Linked DNA regions of Homo sapiens: region 1 is linked to region 2. Evidence: promoter capture Hi-C in human tissues and cell types (Jung and others, 2019). All regions are on one chromosome and are shown on one strand. The core of a region is centred on a gene start or on the middle of the fragment in contact, and the rest is flanking DNA. Distances in the headings are between cores, read along the strand shown. Region 1 holds the start of LOC107985282 (a long non-coding RNA gene). Region 2 holds the start of FBN3 (fibrillin 3).

Region 1 (2,700 bases), core at 180-2,679, 92 kb before region 2:
CCAAGGGTCTTGGATGCATCCTTGCACACCTTGGTACATTCAAGTCATGATGAGTGTAGGGGATGAGGGAGAACCACAGGAGCAATGGCTTCTCACAATCTCAAGCCTTGCCTCTGCTGATGTGCCCAGCTTCAATGCCCACCAGTTTACTGACTGATACTCTGCTCCCACCAGACCATATCGTTTCACACATCCTAGCCTTTACAAATACTGGCCTCTGCCTAGAATGCTCATTTAGTATTTGGGTGCTGAAGACACAAAATGGTGGGGAAAACAAGCAACATCTCTGCCCTGAAGAGCTTAAACGCTTTCTTTCTCTGTTTGGCAAACTCCTATGCATCCTTCAAAACCCAGCTCAGTTGTCACCTCCTCCTGAAAGCAGCCCAATTGCCCTGCTTTGGATCCTGTTAAAGCACCCTCCCGCAACCCTGTCTTACTGTGATGTCAGGAGCTGGCCAGTGTTTTTGCAGGGAGGGTTGGAGAAGGAAGCATAACCAGTTCTAAACTCTCCTCTCCTCTGCTGAATCATGCCCATTGCTTCCTGAGTGGCACAGAAAGGGGAACAGATGCACTTTCTAAACCAGGGAGCTCTCCAAGGAGGCTTCAGACTGATATGCCCTGATTGCAGAGGTCTGGCCCCAGAGGTCCTACTCTCTCACTAACCTCACCAACCTGTCTCTGTCTCGTCCCTTCCCTCTTCTCCCTCTTAAAGCATAAATAAAAGATGCTGTGGTTTGAGAAAAGAACAGGGTCTGGAGCCCAGCAGACTGGCTGGAGTCCTAGCTGCAATGCTTCAAAGCCCTGGGAGCCTCAATTTCGTCACCTGTTGGTGGGACAGGTGCCCTCCCTGAAGGGTGGTTAAGCAGCTCAGAGACCTTGCACCTGGGGCATTGAGGCAGAGTCTGGCATATGGGAGGGGCTCAGGCATGGCTATAACCAGGCACCTCAGGCCAGCAAGGCTCAACTTCTCCTGAGGGAAGGGAGGAAATGAGGCTGAGGGATGTGTTCCTCAATTTCTAGCTTTTCTCTTTTGGATCCAGTTCTTCTGTTTGTTCCCTGTCATCCTCTGTCTTCCTGGGCCTCAGTTGTCCCATCTGAAAAATGGGTACAGCTAGATTCCCTCCTTGTTCTACCAGGCTATTGTGAGGCTCAGGGCAGGCGGGCAGTTTATAAACACTCCATGCTGATATCACAACGGATCTGATTCCTGATTCCTGCCTCACCCGTTTACCAGGCATGGAACGTGGCCTATCTGTGCCTCAGTTTTATCTGTAAAATGGAACAAACAATAGCCCCTCTTCCACATGGAGTGGTTCGGAATGGCACCTGAGGTGGAGTGAGCACCTAGTAAAATTTAGAGGACCGAGTGCAGTGGCTCACACCCAGCACTTTGAGAGGCCGAAGTGGGAGGATTGCTTAAGGTCAGGAGTTCGAGACCAGCCAGGGCAACATAGCAAGACAAAAAAATTTAAAAATTAGGTGGGCATAGTGACACACACCTGTAATCCCGGCTACTCAGGAGGCTGAGGTGAGAGGACTGGTTGAGCCCAGGAGTTTGAGGCTGCAGTGAGCTGTGATCACACCACTGCACTCCAGCCTGGGTGACGGAGCAGATCCTGTTTCGGAAAAAAACCCCCCAAAAAACAGCTTAGACTGTGATAGTTACTGCTAGACAGGAGGTGGGGGCAGGATGGGGAGTGGTCTGGAAAGAAGGGGTGCTGGCCTATGGAGGCTTCTAGATGGTTCTTCCAAGCCCTTAGGACGGTTTCCAGCATCTGAGGTGCCTAAGGCTGCTGGAAGCTTTCCTTGCCCCTGCCACCTTCCCTTAAAGCTGCAGCTGAAGTGTTTGGGCTGGGCTGGACGACAGCAGCTTCAGGGTCATCTGCAGAGCCACCGCGTGGGTGGCAGGGCCAGTGTGACCAGCCTCTTCTCCCCTCACCCCACCCGCCCCCAAGCCTGGCTGCTGTTTGAAGCCTCCCTGGCCCCACTCCCAGCTTGGCCCCTGCCACCTGGGAACCAAACTGATAATCCTTCTTAGTGGCTAAAAATAGCCCCAGATTGGGGGAAAGAGAGAGAATGGGGCTTTGTACTGACACGGGAGGTGGGTTAGGGGGCATGAGTAGAGGATCCCTGCCCCTCTTCAGGGGTCTGAGTGAGAAGGACTGGTTCCCACGGCTTCCCCGAACCCCCAAGGACCCTGGCACTGCTCAGCAGATCAGAGCTATGCACATAGGTTTGTTTTGTTTTGCTTTCAATCTAGCTGGAAATACAGGACTTGTCCATGGTTGTGAAAAAGGCAATTAATTCAGACCCCAGATGTCTGGGCCTCCCAGAGATGAAAACACACACACACACACACACACACACACACTTGCATACATTGACTCACTCACCCGCCCCTGCAGCCTGGCCCGCTGCCTGGGGTCACCTGATTCCTGCGGCCAGAGGCTCAGGCGGGAGCACGTGACATGCTGGAAGGAAGGGGGCTGTTTGCAGATAACCACAGCCTGCCTCTGCACCGGGTCCTGGCTGTCCCTTCCAGACGGACCTGTCTCTTCCACTCTGAGCCTCTCTGAGCAGAGGTCCCACAGGGTGTTAGTGACCAGAGATGCTGCCGGTTGAGGTACCACTCCCCCCAAAGACCCCAAGGTGGACCCCAAGTTCAAGGTTCCGCCTTACCTGAGCCCCTTATTTCTGCAC
Region 2 (2,775 bases), core at 247-2,746:
GCAGGTGGATCACGATGTTAGGAGTTCGAGACCAGCCTGGCCAACATGGTGAATCCCCGTCTCTACTAAAGATACAAAAAATTTACCGGGCATGATGGCACAAGCCCGTAATCCCAGCTACTCGGAAGGCTGAAGCAGGAGAATTGCTTGAACCTGGGAGGTGGAGGTTGTAGTGAGCCAAGATCGTGCCATTGCACTCCAGCCTGGGTGACAGGGCAAGACTTTGTCTCAAAAAACAAACAAAACAAAACATAAACAAAATCCTCTCCCTCCCTGCAAATTGTGAGTTTACCCTATTGAACTCCCAAAGCTGACTTGCTGAATATACTCCCACCATAGCACTTCCGGAATGGAGACAGGGTCTCCAATTTTTGGAGATAGGGTCTTGCTCAGTTGCCCAGGCTGGAGTGCAGTGGCACAATCATAACTCACTGCAGCCTCAACCTCCTAGGCTGAAGCAGTCCTCCTGCCTCAGCCTCCTGAGTAGCTGGGACTATAGATGCATGCCACCAGGCCTGGCTAATTCTTTTTAATTTTTTTTTTTTTTTTTTTTTTAGAGATGGGGTCTCACTATGTTACCCAGGTTAGTCTCGAACTCCTGGTTTCAAGCCCACTGGGCTTACTTATTTATTAGATTCCGGAAGTACTGTGGTGGGGGGATATTCAGCACAATCAGCTTTGGGAGTTCAATAGAGTAAACTCACAATTTGCGGATAGGGAGGGAATTTTTGAACTGGACTTTGACAGATGCGTAGGAGTTTGCTGGATGGAGTAACAGCTTCAGGCCCAACGCACAGCTTCTGACAGATCCCCATGTTAAGGGTCTATTCTCAAAGGTATGAAGGTAGTGGAAAAGCCTAGAAATTTTTGTTTGGAGTACTGACAACAGATAGGGAGCCAAAATTCTTGTCTGGTCCCTTTGGTAGGTGGACAAACAGGTTCAAAGAGATTTGAAAGTTTACACCGTTTGAATTGTTAACCTCTTCATTTTGAGAACCAGATGAAAAACCTGGGCCCTTCTCCCTGGGAAATACAGCTTTGCCCAATGTTTTGTCAACATATTTAGGGGCCCCTGATCTCAGCCTAGTTAAGAATCCAGGCTCCAAGAGCCAGGTGAGTTTCCAACGTCACTCTCGCAATTCTCCTTGCTCGAGGGAGGGGGTGGCGGCTTGGGAGGCCCTGAGAGGGCCGCCCAGGTGAGTCCCGGGACTTCTCTGCCCAGGCTGTCGTCCAGGCCCTCCAAAAGTCAGAGCCCCACCTCCACCTTAGTCTCGATCCGAAAACGCGGCCCCGGCAGCCCCTACTAGGCGCCCCCAGCCCGCCCTCACATCCCTCCAGTCCATCGGAGTTTTTCACTCGGAGCCCCGGACCCTCCCCCGAGCCGCAGCCTCTCTCCCCGCCCCGGATCGGAGCCCCCCGTCCCCGCCCCGGGAGCTAAGAGGTGCAAACGCGCCCTCCTCCAACTCCTCCCGCCCCCAACTCCCCCCCGAGTGGCAGCTCTGGGCTGGGAACGCGGCGGGGTCGGCCTCTCGGCTTTGCGTTCCCGCCCCGGGTCCCCGGCGCCGCAGGAGCCCGCCCTGCAGCGCTGAGTCCCGCGCGTCCGCCTGCCGTGCCCGCCTCCACGCGCGCCGCCTCGCAGGTAGGTGAAGGCGCGGGGCCAGCGGCGGGGCGAGATCGCGGGCGCTGAAGGGTGGAGAAGGCGGGGGCGGGGGGGCCGGCAGGGGGAGGGGGAGAGGATTCCTTTGTTCGCAGCCGGGCAGCCCCGGGCCCAGCCCCCTCCCCTCTCCGCCTTCTAGTGGCGCCCGCCGCAGTGGGGAGTGGGGGCGCGGGGACCCGGCGGGAGGGGCTCGGCCGGGGCGCGGGGCCCCTGACCCCACAGGTGAGGGCGGAGCCAAGCGTGGTCGCGGCCGGGGGCCCTGCCGGGTGGAGATCGCGCCCCGCGGGCTCCGGGGGCGCCCCCTCCCCGTCGGCGAAGCTTGGTATCCCTCGCTGTTTGGCCCTCAGCCTCCACACCCCGTGCCGGGCGCGCCTTCTCTGCTCATTCATTCCACAAACTCCAGGGTGTGGCTCGCAGAAGCAGCGGTGTGTAGGGGGGACCGAGGCAAATCAGGCCAGAGACTCCCCCCACCTAATTCCCCCACCCGACCCGAGGCAGGGGGCTGGGGCGGAGGGAGTGGGGGAGGAGGGCTTGCAAGCCCCGAGGCTGCTTGGAGTCCACGGAGCCTCAGAGTGCGGACTGACCCGGACAACTGAGAAGAAAAAGAGGGCGCCCCTCTCCAGCCAGCCAACCCTCCAACGTTGACAGGGGTCTCTCCCTTCTCCGGGGCCTTTGGACAACCAGGTTGGCCCAGAGAGGGGCGTGGCCAAGACCACACAGCAGGGCTCCCCGCCCATTCTCCACCTAGGGCCGGTTCCTTTCCTCCCTGGAACCTGAATGGAACAGGAAGGCCACTTGGTCTGGCTTCTCTCCCTCAAGTATTTTGCCTCCACCCTCCAAACGGTCGTCTCCTGTCCCGGTCTTCTCCCTCCCGTCCTTCATGGCCCAGGAAAGACCCAGCCAAGGGGGGCAGGAGCGAGTTCCGTTCCTGATCTTCTTCCCCTCCTTCTTCTCTTCGTGGGCTTAAGCTCCGGCTTAGCCCCTCACTCATGGTGTGATGGCCTTAGTTTGTGCATCTGTGAAATGGGCACAGAAGCGGTCCCTTCCCTGCTGGGCACAGGGTTACTCTCTGCATTGGGAAGTTCCAGCCCCTGCCTGGGCCCCCTGCCCAGGGAGGC

What was found. Contacts are between HindIII fragments. The study calls those that stand out against the background at their distance.
Region 1: a fragment that was not itself captured here is called in contact with the fragment with the promoter of FBN3 in region 2 in 4 of the 25 tissues and cell types used here (heart right ventricle, lymphoblastoid cells, spleen and 1 more).

The regions. Positions count from the first base shown.
Region 1 is chr19:8,240,257-8,242,956 of GRCh38, reverse strand. The region is part of intron 2 of CERS4 (ceramide synthase 4); the gene reads right to left. LOC107985282 (a long non-coding RNA gene) reads left to right here and starts at 2,463. Exons shown (of 2, transcript XR_001753859.2): 1 at 2,463-2,623. RefSeq lists a silencer at 2,392-2,441. The HindIII fragment of the contact is 3,994 bases long and covers 1-2,700 here.
Region 2 is chr19:8,148,313-8,151,087 of GRCh38, reverse strand. FBN3 (fibrillin 3) reads left to right here and starts at 1,496. Exons shown (of 64, transcript NM_032447.5): 1 at 1,496-1,639. RefSeq lists an enhancer at 2,339-2,775. The HindIII fragment of the contact is 21,800 bases long and covers 1-2,599 here.